Regions from separate parts of the Homo sapiens genome. Here region 1 is linked to region 2. Evidence: promoter capture Hi-C in 16 types of primary human blood cells and fetal thymus (Javierre and others, 2016). All regions are on one chromosome and are shown on one strand. Each heading gives the region's core, a stretch centred on a gene start or on the middle of the fragment in contact. The rest is flanking DNA. Distances are from core to core; before and after follow the strand shown. Region 1 holds the start of SPATA31F3 (SPATA31 subfamily F member 3). Region 2 holds the start of RUSC2 (RUN and SH3 domain containing 2).

Region 1 (7,351 bases), core at 548-3,047, 600 kb before region 2:
CATCCTCTAGGCAGTGGACAGAGGCCACTTAGAAGCTGAAAGAGAGGAGAGGGTAGAGCTAGAACCATGGGGTTTGGGATTTGTTCACAGTAATTTTTCTGCTCTGAGTCCATAGTGGATCCTTCAAAAACCCTGAAAGCTTAGGTGAACCAGCTAGCCTCCCATGAAACCCAGAGTCAAAGGGATGGAAGCTCATCTGTTCAGCAGAAGCCTTAGAGATAGCATTCAGAGTGAAAGAAATGGCTGTTTGTCTGTCTGTTTTCCATCCTTTGGAAAATTAGAAGTGGTGTGGTATAAGCTGCCCTGTACAGAACTCCTCCACAGATCTTGGGAGCCCTCAGTTGTGGGAATATGTGCAACAATATCCCACTTGTACTTGAAGATTCCTCAGGACTTTTTGGACATTGCAATAGCAGTTGGAAAGGAATGTAGGGTCATAGGCTGTTGTTGTAGGTTTGGGAGCTCTGGGTTCAGGGAAAGAAAGGGAATCTAGTATTCAAGGGCTGCTGACCTTGGTTCTCCAGGACAAATTTGGAGTTGTTTTTCGTCCTCTCCTGCTGGCTCAGAGGAATTCCAGGCTTCTCAAAGTTTGAAGACAGAGATCCCATGACCTGGGACACAGCTGGGACTTGAGATCTCTGTCCTCGCTGAAAGTGATCAGCCCAGGAATCTTGGACGCTGTCTGCACCAGCTGACCGGGCAGCTGACTGGGTTAAAGATTTCTGATCCATTAATTGTGACAGTGTTGGAGTTACAGATGCCAGTGAAAGCTCTTTGGATTTCGGGGAGCCCAGATCCTGACTATGCTTAAAAGACACACTAGATGTGGACAAAGCCTCTAGGCAAGAGGAGCCCTGTGATGGCCCCAGTGAAGTCAGGGAGATCTGGTTGTTCTCACCTGCCAGCAATTGCTTAATCTCCAGAGCCATAACATTGCAGATTTGGCAGCAGGGGTCTGCACACAGGATTCGCCGCACACTTCCTTCCTGAGGAAGCCAGCCCTGGCTGGGAAGAGAAACATGACAAACATTAATGATGGAGTGACATCTGCCTTCTCGGAAAAGTGTGGGCCGGGGTTGGCATTGTCCTTTCCCAGTCCTGAAAATCCTGGAGCCTACACTCTCTTGTTGTCTACCTCCCTGTTTTTCTTCCTAAGAAAATGCTATTTGGAGGCTGGACATAGTGGCTCATGCCTCTAATCCTAGCACTTTGGGAGGCTGAGGTGGATGGATCACCTGAGGTCAGGAGTTCGAGATCAGCCTGGCCAACATGGTGAAACCCCGTCTCTACTAAAAATACAAAAATTAGCCAGGCATGGTGGCGTATGCCTGTAGTCCCAGCTACTTGGGAGGCAGAGGTAGGAGAGTCCCTTGAACCTGGGAGACGGAGCTTGCAGTGAGCCGAGATTGTGCCGTTGTACTCCAGCCTGGGCAACAAGAGTGAAACTCTGTCTCAAAAAAAAAAAAGAAAAAAGAAAAGAAAAAGAAAAAGCCATTTGGCAAGGTGGGCTGGGCTGACGATCTAGAGCTTGTTGGGCAAGGCTTCAGACGACCCATGGGAGGGCGTGGCCCTCAGAGAAGGCTGGGAGCTGGGGTCAGTTCTCTGTTGACCTTGTTGAAAAGCTGAACTAGGAGAACGGAGCCAGGCGGTTAGCTGATGGGGCATCACCAGTTAGAACCCGGATCAGTCTCATTTGAGGCTAAGAAACCCAAAGCCCGGTATTTGGGCTTGAAGTTCATGTAGGACCTCTGCATTCTGAGAGCTATTTGGTATCCCTGCTGATATACTCAATATCTTTTGGGAATCAATCCTGTTCTCTAGAAATCTTAAGAAGAGGATAAGATGATAGGCTGCCATCTGAGGGCTGTCTCCCTAATGACAGAGCCAGAGGAGGTAATGTCAGCAGAATCCAGTCAGACTCAGAGGAGAGGGAATAAAGAGAATAAGACAGGGATGACTTCTTTACGCAAAATCCATTCCTCTTGACTGGATAGCTTGTCTCGTGGCTGAATGCAACCCTGTGTAGAGTCTTTTATGAATTATACACTAGTACAAGCCTGAATTCTAGAACTACTGTGACCCTAGCCCAAAGCAGAATTGGGTGACCCTTCCCTCCTGAGATGTCTGGCCCAGCCCCCCTGCCCTGGTAACTCTCTCAACTAGTGAACCAGCCTCCACTGTGTATGTCTCCCTCCCATCCATTTTCCCTCTTCTCATCTCTACCCCAAGCCAAGCTGAGAAATGATCACAGACCAGACTAGCAGCTGGGAGACTGCAAAGAAGAAGAGATTACCTTTTCATGAGAAACAGCAGCTTCCACAACTTCTCGGCTTCTTCCTGTGAAGTTCTCCTAGCTGAAGAAACAGAAGATAGTGAGTGTTATGTGGAACTGGAGAGGATTCAGGGACATCCTATAAGAAGCTGAAGGCCTTTTAATGAGAAGATACTGAAAACCCCAGAGTCAGAACACTAAGTCACATCTGTGTATAACTTAACCGTTTACGATGTGTTGTTCTGCACCTTGTCTCATTTGTCCTTCACCATCACACTGGGAGTGAGGAAGGATCATCACATGCCCATTTTATGGAGAACAAGACTGAGAGTTGAAGAGACTTCCACAGGTTTGTAAAACTAGTAAATGACAGAGTTGAGGACTTCTGCCCTAATTCCTCATTCTTTATTCTCAGGAGGATAAGATAGAGAATTTTTTAATGTGCCTAGGCTCTGATTTTCCACCCAAGGAAGTCTTCCATGAGAAATTGTCCCTGGGGGGTACTAGAGTCTGCAGTGGTTAGAGCACCTGCTGTTAGCAGCAGGGGTCATAGAGGGTCAGGATCCGTGGGAACCTCACTCACAGCAGAAGTGAATTAGAGGAGAGACTGGGACTTTACCTCTTGATGTTCTATCTCCAGACTTTTGTTGGACTCTTCGGTGACACTTAAAGACAAAAACATTAGAATGCAAAGCTGCTACACCATTTTTTCCCATATCTAAAATGAAACAAAACTCATAAACATTTCCTGGTCTTTTTCTGTGTTCCAATTTTATATACTCTTCTATCTTTCCTTTCTGTATTCTTTTTCACCCCAAGAGTTTTCTTATTTGCTTATTTCTGACTCACTTTCACGCTCTTCCATACTCCATGCCTCCCACCCCCATTCCTTTCATAAGTTCGGTGGGGACTTTAGGATGAGACGGGAGGAAAAGTGGAACAGATTAAAGGATGGATGGGTCCAGAAGTCAAAGGAGTTCAGCCATCAAATGGCCCTAAATAGCTGCCAACCAGAATAATCACCCAAATTGGGAGCTCTTCTGGTGTCCAGTGAGGAGACCCCTTTAAAAAGCAAGGGCTAAGAGTAACAAGAGAAAGCTCGGGGATAAAATCTTGTTTGAGGCACATCAATTTAGCCATGGTCATAGTGTTTCCCTACCCGGCAACAGCTCCTGTTAGGTACCAAGCTTAATTTTTGGCAGCTCTTTTTCACTTGCCAAATAATTAATGCAATAATGCAGATGGATCCATAGGTGTATAAGGGATATCCAACATCCCACAAAACAAAGGTAGGGCTCAACATGATCTAAACCTCACTAGCCATCCCTCTCCCTAGTCTTTCACTGTCTTAGAACCTAATACCTCCAGATTTTACACCTCGTCATTTCTGCCTCACAGAAGAGGGATCCAAATCACCAGACTGCATCACAAAGCCCTCCTGTTCCACAAGGCAGGGATAGCATCACAGACCTTTATTTGTTTTTAAAGAGGCTTACTATGGTGATTCAATGTTCAGATGAGGGTGTCTGGTGCTCTGTATGGGCTACAGAGCCTGGGGCAAAAGATGCCAAGGTCATGGGCAACATGTACCTTTTCATGTTCTCTCTACTCTCTATACTGTTATGGCTTAGCTCTCCCCTTTACTACAATGGCCTGACACCTATTCCTGACACCTAGTGTGCATATGACACCGAGTCTCTATGCACACTACATGCCCTATAAGAGAGACAGTGGATAGATCAGAGGAACTCCATGAACTACATCATCTGTACTGGGAAGATAACAACAACAACAAAAAATAGAGGATAGGGCAAGCATCATATTGTTAAATCTTGGAAACCGATTTTTAATGCCACCAGCAATGATATATGGTCAGTACTGAGAGGTTCAGAAAGAGGGCAGTGTGTGACATGTCAAGGAAAGGACAAAGCTGATGTTCTTTTAAATAACTTTCTGAGAGTTAAAGAAGGACTTCTCCCAATCTGCGTGGTCCAGCCTGAGATGGGTGAGCAGAGATTGTAAGCACTACCTTTCATGGAGGCAAATGAATGAGGCTCACTTCTGGAGCTCTGTACAAGGCTTGATTTTTCCAGAATTGCCTCTACAGATTTTATAGCATCTAGCCTATTCATGGAGATGAGTTATTGGCAAAACTTTCGATTAAGGTTCACAAACTTGTGGCTCTTTGGTTGAATCCACCGTGGTTGGAATGTTTGCCTAAAAGAGTGTTTTATGAAAATCTGAATTTGAATAACTTTAGGCAGAGCAGGATTTTTCCTCATTTAACCCCGGGATCTACCACTCCTTTGCCCACTGATTCTCACATTAATGTTAACTTCATGACCCCTATCAATATTATGGCATGTCCCCAACACCCTAGGATTTCTGAGTTTCCTTGAGAAGTTCTTGCCCTGATAAAAGTGGTTGGTCTTAGGCTCAAAATCTCTGAAAAGGGGCCAAGTGCGGCGGCTCACACCTGTAATCCCAGCACTTTGGGAAGCTGAGGCAGGCGGATCACCTGAGTCAGGAGTTCGAGACCAGCCTGGCCAACATGGTGAAACCCCATCTCTACTAAAAATACAAAAAATTAGCCAAGTGTAGTGCTGGGCACCTGTAATCCCAGCTACTCAGGAGGCTGAAGCAGGAGAATCGCTTGAACCCAGGAGGCAGAAGTTGCAGTGAGCCGAGATCACACCACTGCACTCCAGCCTGGGTGACAGAATGAGACTCTGCCTCAAAAACAAACAAACAAAATCTCTGAAAAGGGTATTTGATCCTTCCTCCAGCATTAGTTCCTCCACCAGACAGGAATAGTGAGCACTCAATACGTGCTTAACCCTAAGTTGGGCAGTGTTGAGAGTACAAAGGCATTTGAGTTGTATTGCCTACCTGCTTTCAAGATTCTTAAAAATCTAGTTTCAAAGACAAGGCATCCACAAGAAGCAAAAGCCAACATTTTGCTGGGGAAGGGGCTAGAGAAGGGGGAAATAGAGTGTTATTGTTTAATGGGTACAGAAGTTTCTGTTTGGGGTGATGAATACAACCATCTTATTCATAAATGAATGCCCTTAATGGCACTGAATTGTACACTTAAAAATAACTAAAATGGTAAATTTTATGTTAAGCATATCTTACCACAACTTAAAAACAACCAAAAAATTCATTAGCACAAGGGTTTCTTTTTGAACTAGCTATAAGGAAAAATATTCTAAAAATGATTTGACAAACAAATGGATTAGTGAACATTTTTCTCTTTTAATTTTTTTATTTCCATAGGTTATTAGGGAACAGGTGGTGTTTGGTTACATGAGTAAGTTCTTTAGTGGTGATTTGTGAGGTTTTGGTGCACCCATCACCCGAGCAGTATACACTGCACCCTATTTGTAGTTTTTTATCCCTCACCTCCTCCCACTCCTCCCCTCAAGTCCCCAAAGTCCATTGTATCATTCTTATGCCTTTTCATCCTCATAGCTTAGCTCCAACGTATCAGTGAGAACATATGATGTTTGGTTTTCCGTTCCTGAGTTACTTTGCTTAAAATAATAGTCTCCAATCTCATCCAGGTCGCTGCAAATGCTGTTAATTCATTCCTTTTTATGGCTGAGTAGTATTCCATCATATATATATACCACAGTTTCTTTACCCACTCATTGACTGATGGGCATTTGGGTTGGTTCTACGTTTTTGCGATTGCAAATTGTGCTGCTATAAACATGCACGTGCAAGTATCTTTTTCGAATAATGGCTTCGTTTCCTCCAGGTAGATACCCAGTAGTGGGATTGCTGGATCAAATGGTAGTTCTACTTTTAGTTCTTTAAGGAATCTTCACACTGTTTTCCATAGTGGTTGTACTAGTTTTCATTCCCACCAGCAGTGTAGAGGCGTTCCCTTATTGCCACATCCATGCCAACATCTACTGTTTTTTTATTTTTTGATTATGGCCATTCTTGCAGGAGTAAGGCGGTATCACATTGCGGTTTTGATTTGCATCAGTGAACGTTTTTCTTAAATGTCCTTCTTATACCTACAAAAGGAAACTAGATCTTCATATTAAGGATAATTTAAGAAGAGTCCTACCTGAAAATGGGATGAATTTGAGCTATTTCATCATCTGCCCTGAACTTGCAAATTCCATAATACAGGAATGAGAAGACTTTTTCAAACAAAGAGCACTGAATGAAAGGTTAACAAAAATCAATTAAAAGGCAGCTTGAGTCAGCTTTTTAGTAGCAGGTCATCAACATACCTGCAAAGTAGCCTGTATCCTTCATTACTTTTATTACTCCTACTTAACCAGCTGTTGCCACCCTCTATGCAGCTGTAACAGTTTTGTCACCCATTAGCCTGACGTCTTGCACCCAGCAGAATCACCACATCTGCAAGTCCTGCACCTGCTTCTGCCAGTGCACTACTTACCTCACAGATAACCCACAGCCTCTGCCCTTCCACCAAGCCATTAAAACCATCTACTGAAAACTCCACTCCAGCAATTCGCCTGGCCCTTGCTCCTCTGCCTCAGAGCTGAGGAATTAGAGCCAAGGGCTGAGCCAAAAATGGTCTCATGCCTTTTTGTAGATTAGGCCTTTAGCATAGGTTTATTTACTGGTTTGGGGCTCATCGACAAGGGTGCTTGTGTGGACAGGACAGTGGGATCAGTGTCTTCCTGAACAAGGGCTCATTCATGTAATGATCACAGCTAAGCCTGGCATTTCTCACGATGTGGGCATGGATCATCACATTTGCCTTTCCTGCCTCGTGGTTGAGAGCGAACAGCAAACGAGGGAGATGAACTACACGAAAAGCCTCTGTGGACGCTGGAGGGCTGCACAACTATCAAGGATTATTCTTCATTTGTTTCTAGAAAACTTGCTTTAAGCCAGACCCTGCTTTCATTATAATGCTGCAGAGCCACAATGATTGCAATAGAATTTCTTCAAGGAACTGTTCATGGCTACCAATTCATACGTACCCATGAGTCCTATCGCCTTGTAAAGAAACATGTGACTGACATGCCACTGGTGTGAGACTTGTCCCTCCACACAAGCCTTACGAAAGAGCTTCGCTGTGTCTCATACTCA
Region 2 (7,319 bases), core at 139-2,638:
TGTGCAAACATCTGATTGGTTGCAAGAAGCAACCAATCAGAGGCTAGGGTGAAGTTACAAAGTTATACTTCTATGCAAAGTTAGACTCGGCTGCAGTCAGTCTAATTGGTTGCAGATAGCCAATTTCCCATCTGCTGGGCAGAAAAGTTGGGTGGGGGGTTTGTTACTTAGGTGTGGAAAGTTAGGGTTTTCCTTTCAATTTAGTTCCAGGAAGTTGGCATGAACCAGTCTTAGGTTCCCTGCCTCCAGTCCCTATTCTCCTGCCTCAGAACCATCACCCAACATCCCTAGTGGGTAGCAGGGGAGAACCCTCTCCTGCCCCGCTCATGCCTAACTACCTGTAACAGTTTGGCTGTGTCCCCACCCAAAATCTCATCTTGAATTGTAATTCCCATAATCCCCCTGTGTCAAGGGCGGGAACAGGTGGAGGTAATTGGATGATGGGGCTGGTTTCCCCTGCGCCCTTCTCGTGACAGTGAGTGAGTCCCACAAGATCTGATGATTTTATAAGCGTCTGGCATTTCCCTTGCCTGCACTCACTCTGTCCTGCCACCCTGCGAAAAGGATGGCTACTTCTTTGCCTTTTGCCATGATTATAAGCTTCCTGAGGCCTCGCCAACAATGCGGAACTGTGAGTCAGACCTCTTTCCTTCATAGTATTTCTTCATAGCAGTGTCAGAACGGACTAATACAGTGGGTTTCCCATAACATTTGCAGGACTGCCTGCCCCATCCCCCTCTGGCTGTAAACAGCAGGAGTCACACACAGGCATCTTCCATGTCCCCCACACATCCGGCCCTGAAGGGCAGGGGGCGCATGGGTTCTACGTTTCATCAGGGGTTCCGAACCCTGGCTATGCACTGGAGGCCAACCCCACCTCACCCCACCCCACTCCACCCCAGTGGTTCTGAGTCGGTCCAGTGTGAGGTCAGCCCTCCTTCTGTTGTTTGGTTAGTTTCCACACTAGGTTCTACTGGGAAGCCAGCGTTGAGAACCGCCGCCTCAGGCGAAGCTGGGACTCACACCCACCGGCCCTGGAGGCCCGCGGAAGGTTTCCCTGGGTTCCAGCACCCGGGAGCCGCGCGTCGCCAGGCACCACCCCGCGGGGGCGGGCGCGGGCCGCAGAAGATTGGGCCACGGCGGAAGCCTCTCCGCTCCCTTAGCGGGAAAGCTCTGCGCGTGACTCGGCTGCGCCCATCGCTGCGGGAGCCGGGGAGGGGGCGAGCACCTTAGGCCGGGCGGACCGAACCAACGCGCCGCCCGGAGGGGCGGCCTGAGGGCAACCCAGATCGGACCATCGCGCCACGCCGACAGGGGCCGGCCTTTCCAACCCGCCCGGAGGGAGGGGCCGCCGGCGCCTCTAGCCTGCAACGCGACCCCTGGAGGGCGAGACACGCCGCCGCCGCCGCCGCCGCCGGCGCGGAAGGACGAGGCTGAGGCGAGAAACGAGGTAGGAACGCCTCTCCGGAGGCGGGCAGGGTCCCACAGACCCACTGCCCCGCGTTCCAAGGTCTCCCTTAGGGGAGGGCCTGTCTTCCCACCTATGTGCCTTCAGCGCCTGCCCTTCCCTTCAGCCCTTCCCCCTCGGCTGCACCCGCCCTCTGCGTCCGCCCCGACCCCCTGGGCAGACCTCGTCCCCAGCCCTTCTGACCCTTGGCCTTCTCCTGACCCTTCAGCTCTGCGTCCACCGGACCTTCAAACACCCAGCACCCACCGTCCCTTTGGGCGCCACCCCAGATGCATCCCCAACCGTCTCCTCAAACTGCCCCCTTGGGGACACCCTCCCCCCACAAAACGACTCGCGCCCAGTAGTCACCTTGGTACCCCAAGTCCCTGTGACGGCTTTGGGGAAGCGTGGCCGCCCGGCACCCAGGCCGGCGACTGCAGCGGGGGCCTCCCTACTGCCAGTTCCCGGCCGGGTCCTCTGCTCCCTCCACCCTTTTAGCCCCTGCCTCCCTTTATTATCCGCCCGGCGCCGGCGTTGCTTCAGTCTCTGTCTCTCTGTCATCCAGTTTTACCTGGAGAAAACCTTTGGCTTGGCAGTAACCGTCCCCTACTACTGCACTCACTTGCCGCGAAGGGCACGGTGATCCTGTTGCCCACAGTTGGCTGTGGCCCTCCAGGCCGGCCCTGCGGACACGGGGAACTGTCCTGGGGGCAAGGACGGTACACTACTCATCTTTGTATCCCCGGTCCCCAGCACGGTGCCTGGCACATGGTAGTGTTGCTGGTGGAGGGTCTTCACTACCAGTTGTCCTTTGCGTTTTGAACAAGTAATTGAGCAGCGGAGGAATGAAACGCAGGAACAAGTAGATCTGAGTCAGGCAAGGATTACCACTATGTGAACAGTGTCCGTGATAAAGAACACAGGCCTTAAAAAAAAAAAAAAGGCGGAATTTACAAAGGACAAAGGGCCTGAAACCTGTTTTTATTTATTCCTAGGTGGGTGACCTGAGCAGATTTAGTTTCCTGGGGGTTTGGGTTCCACGCGGAAGCAGGTGGTATCGCTGAGGGATGAAACAATGGCTGGAAAGCTGTAGGAGTTGATAAGGTAGAAAGTAGTTACCTAATTAGTAGTGGCATTATTGTAACTGGGGCTCAAAGTATTAGCAAATAAAAGTAGTGACTGGATTTTCTTAGCCGGCTCCTTAGATATTAAGCAGTGGTGGATGGCTTAATGGAAGGAAGAGCAGATCCAAACAGTATACCTGGTATTCTGTTAGTTATGCCCGTCCTGCTGTATGGCCAGCCACTGTTTCTCTTCTGTTTTGAGCCAGGTTAGGATCCCTCTGATTTCTGTGCTGGTATTTAAGATTCCTTTTTGAAGCCACAGTTGCCTTAACTGGAGGCTGGACATGTTCTCATTCATCCATTGCTAGTTTTGATGTATCCTTTTCCGCTTTCTGTCTCCCACCCTCTTACATGTCTTTATAAAGTCTTGGATCAGGCCAGGCACAGTGGCTCAGCCTGTAATCCCGGCACTTTGGGAGGCCCAGGTGGGCGGATCACTAGAGGTCAGAAGTTCAAGATCAGCCTGGCCAACATGGTGAAACCCCATCTCTACTAAAAATACAAAAATTACCGGGCATGGTGGTGTGCACATGTAGTCCCAGCAACTCAGGAGGCTGAAGTCCCAGCAACTCAGGAGGCTGAGGCAGGAGAACCCCTTGAACCTGGGAGGCAGATGTTGCAGTGAGCTGAGATCATGCCACTGCACTCCAGCCTGGGTGACAGAGCAATGCTCTGTCTCAAAATAAAGCCTTGGATCATAGAAACCCAGTGTGGGGAGGGGCTCCTGATCTGGATGGATTAAGCAATACAATTTTTTTTTAACAGTATCTTTTTAATGGCCTTTTCTACTTTTTCCTGTCTAGGCTTCCTGTTAAGACCTCAGTTACCCCAGAACACCCTGGGTTATTTTTCTCCTCACCTCCAATACTTCAGTGTTGCCAGATAAAACGCAGAGTGCCCAGTTAAATTTGAATTTCAAATAAACAACAGGGAGTCCTGTATTTTTACTTGCTAAATCTGGCAAGTTCATGGGAGGGCTTATGTGTTCTATTTTTCTCTCTGGGCTTATCTGCAAATTTAGGATAATAACTCACCCTTTTCTTCCTGTTACTCATACACAATGACTATGCACCCTGCTAAAAGTCACTTGACTGAAGAGATGGTTCACTTCATGTTAGGGTAAGGGCAGGCTATCTAGAAATGGTCTTGATTGATCAGTGTTGAAGTTACCCAGGAAAAAAAAAAAACACCCATTCAGACATTGGCATTTAATATAATTTTTGTCAAATGAGTCCGTCATACGAAACGAGAGCATCATTTTGAGTAGCCAGATGTCAACATTGCTCTGATAGAGCTAGGTGATGGGGTAGAAGGGAATCCTAACAACAACAAAATAACTCAGCAGAACCTGTGCTGTACCATATTTACTCTTTATGGTGGTAATATATATATATATAACATAGAATTTACCATTGTAATAATTCTTAAGTGGCATTAAATATATTCACATTATTGTACAACCATTACTGATAACAATCTCCAGAACTTTTTTTCATCTTCCCAGACTGAAACTCTGTACCAGTAAGATGCTAACTCCCCATTTCTCCCTACTCCGCCCCAGGCAACCACCATTCTACTTTCTATCTTTGAATTTGACTACTGGGGGTACCTCATATAAGTGGAATCATGCACTATTTGTCTCTTTGTGACTGGTTTATTTCGGTTAGCATAATGCCTTTTTTTGTTTTTTGGGTTTTTTTTTAACTTTTATTTTAGGTTCAGGGGTACATATGAGGGTTTGTTATATAGATAAACTCATTTCACAGGGGTTTGTTGTACAGATTATTTCATCACCCAGGTATTAAACCTGGTACCCAATAGTTATCTTTTCTGCTCCTCTCCCTCCTTCTACCCTCAAGAAGACCCTGGTGTCTGCTGTTTGTTTCTTTGTGTTTATACATTCCCATCATTTAGCTCTCACTTATAAGTGAGAACATGCAGTATTTGGTTTTCTGTTTCTGTTAGTTTGCTAAGGATAATAGCCTCCAGCTCCATCTATGTTTCTGCAAAAGACATGATCTCATTCTTTTTTATGGCTGCATAGTATTCCATGGTGTATATATACCACATTTTCTTTATCTGGTCTGTCATTGATGGGTATTTAGGTTGATTCCGTGGCTTTGCTATTGTAAATAGTGCTGCAGTTGGTTAGCATAATGTCTAAAGTTCATCCACTTTATAGCCTGTATCAGAACTTCCCTCCTTTTATTTTTATTTATTTATTTTTTGAAACAGAGTCTCCCTCCATCAACCAGGCTAGAGTGCAGTGGCACGATCTTGGCTCACTGCAACTTTTGCCTCCCAGTTCAGGTGATTCACATGCCTCAGCCTCCTGAGTAGCTGGAATTACAGGTGCACGCCACCACGCCCGGCTAATTTTTGTATTGTTAGTAGAGAGGGGGTTTCACCACGTTGGCCAGGCTGGTCTCGAACTTCTGACCTCAAGTGATCCACTAGCCTCAGCCTCCCAAAGTGCTGGGATTACAGGTGTGAGCCACTGCACCTGGCCAGAATTTCACTCCTTTTAAAGGCTGAATAATATTCCATTGTATGTATACACTATATTCTGTTTATTCATCTTTTGATGGATACTTTGGTTGCATCTATCTTTTGGCTATTATGAAAAATGCTGATGTGAACATGAGTGTACAGATATGTTTGAGTCCCTGCTTTTAGTTCTTGTGGGTATATACCCAGAAGTGGTGTTGCTGGATTGTATGGTAATTTTATGTTTATGTTTATTTATTTATTTATTTATTTGAGGAACCACTGTTTTCCACAGTGGCTATAGCATTTTACATTCTCATCAGCAATGCATAAGGGCTCCAATTTTTCCACATCCTTGGCAACACTTGTTTTCTTTTTTTTTTTTTAAATAACAACCATCCTAGGCTGGGCATGGTGGCTCACGCCTGTAATCCCAGCACTTTGGGAGGCCGAGGCGGGCGGATCACCTAAGGTCAGGAGTTCAAGACCAGCCTGGCCAACATGGTAAAACTCCATCTCTACTGAAAATACAAAAATTAGCCAGGCATGGTGGCGCACACCTATAATCCCTGAGGCAGGAGGCTGAGGCAGGAGAATGGCTTGAACCGGGGAGGCTGAGGTTGCAGTGAGCTGAGCTCATGCCCCTGCACTCCAGCTTGAGTGACAGAGCAAAACTCCATCTCAAAATAATAATAGTAATATAACCATCCTAAGCAGTGTGAAGTGATATCTCATGATTTTGATTCATATTTCTCTAATGAAAAGATATCGAGCATTTTTTCATGTATTTCATACCTATCGGCCATTTGTATATCTTTGGAGAAATGCCTATTCAAGTCCTTTGCCCATTCTTGGATTGGGTTGTTTGTCGTTGAGTTGTAAGAGTTTTTTAATACATTTTGGACATTAATCCATCTCAGATGTATGATTTGCAAATATTTTCTCCTATTCCATGGATTGCCTTTCACTCTGTTAAAAGTGTCCTTTGATGCACGAAAGTTTTTAAATTTGAAATCTAATTTATCTAATTTTTCTTTTGTTACCTGTGCATTTTGTCTTACCCAAGAATCATTGCCAAATTAAGTGACATGAAGCTTTCCCTCTGTTTTCTTGTTTTTTATATATAATATATATTATACATATTATATAAAATTTATATATAATATATATTATACATATATAAAATTTATATATATTATATAATATATATTTTATATATTATATATACTACAGTATATATTTTATATATTATATATACTATAGTATATATAATATATACTATAGTATATATTATATATAGTATATATTATATATACTATAGTATATATTATACATTATATACACTATAGTATATATTATACATTATATATACTATATATATATATTTTATTAAATATATATAATATATTTTATTATAATATAATTTATTATATATAAAGTATATATTTATATTATATATGATATATATAATATATAAAATATATTTTTTATATATTATATATATTATACATATAGTTTTAGCTCTTATCTTTAGGTCTTTGATCCATTTTGAGTTAATTTTTGTATGTAATGTAAGATAAGGGTCTAACTTATTTCATTTGCTTGTGGATATCCAGTTTTTCCAACACCATTTGTTGAAAAGACTGACCTTTCCCCACTGAATGGTATTCACACCCTTGTCAAAACTCATCTGACCAGATATGTGAGGGTTTATTTCTGGGCTCTCTAGTCTCTTCCATTGGTCTTTATGTTTATCTTTATGCTGATAAAACACTGTTTTGATTACTGTAGCTTTGTAGTAAGTTTGGAAAATCAAGAATGTAAGTCCTCCAACTTTGGTTTTCTTTTTCAAGATTGTTTTGGTTGTTCAGGATCCCTTAAGATTCCATATGAATTTTAGGATGGATTTTACTATTTATGCAAAAAACATTGTTGGGATTTTGATAGGGATTGTATTGAATCTCTAGCTGACTTTGGGTAATACTGACACCTCTAATGATAGCAAGTTTTCCAATTCATGATCACCAGATGTTTTTTCATTTATTTATGTCTAATTTCTTCCAGCAATGTTTTGTATTTCTCAGTGTACAAGTCTTTCACTTCCGTGGTTAAGTTCATTCCTAAGTATTTTATTCTTTTTGATGTTACTGTAAATGGAATTGTTTTAATTTCCATTTCAGATTGTTCATTGTTAGTGTTTAGGCATACAGCTGATTGGATAAAGTTGCTCCAAAACAGATGAAGAAAATTACACCAAAGCA

The links. The method cuts DNA at HindIII sites, captures the fragments that hold promoters and counts their contacts. A CHiCAGO score of 5 or more calls a contact.
Region 1: a contact is called between a fragment that was not itself captured here and the fragment with the promoter of RUSC2 in region 2, in 3 of 17 cell types (naive CD8 T cells, naive B cells and total B cells). The highest score is 8.0, in naive CD8 T cells.

What each region holds. Positions count from the first base shown.
Region 1 is chr9:34,892,148-34,899,498 of GRCh38, forward strand. It overlaps SPATA31F3 (SPATA31 subfamily F member 3), which reads right to left and starts at 3,617. Exons shown (of 5, transcript NM_001309427.2): 1 at 3,432-3,617; 2 at 2,892-2,937; 3 at 2,294-2,354; 4 at 899-1,005. The coding sequence starts at 3,575. It also overlaps a transcript of PHF24 not described here. The HindIII fragment of the contact is 3,320 bases long and covers 138-3,457 here.
Region 2 is chr9:35,488,723-35,496,041 of GRCh38, forward strand. RUSC2 (RUN and SH3 domain containing 2) reads left to right here and starts at 1,389. Exons shown (of 12, transcript NM_014806.5): 1 at 1,389-1,450. It overlaps LOC105376026 (a long non-coding RNA gene), which reads right to left and starts at 2,905. Exons shown (of 2, transcript XR_929580.4): 1 at 2,709-2,905; 2 at 2,397-2,534. RefSeq lists a silencer at 1,058-1,357. The HindIII fragment of the contact is 5,552 bases long and covers 599-6,150 here.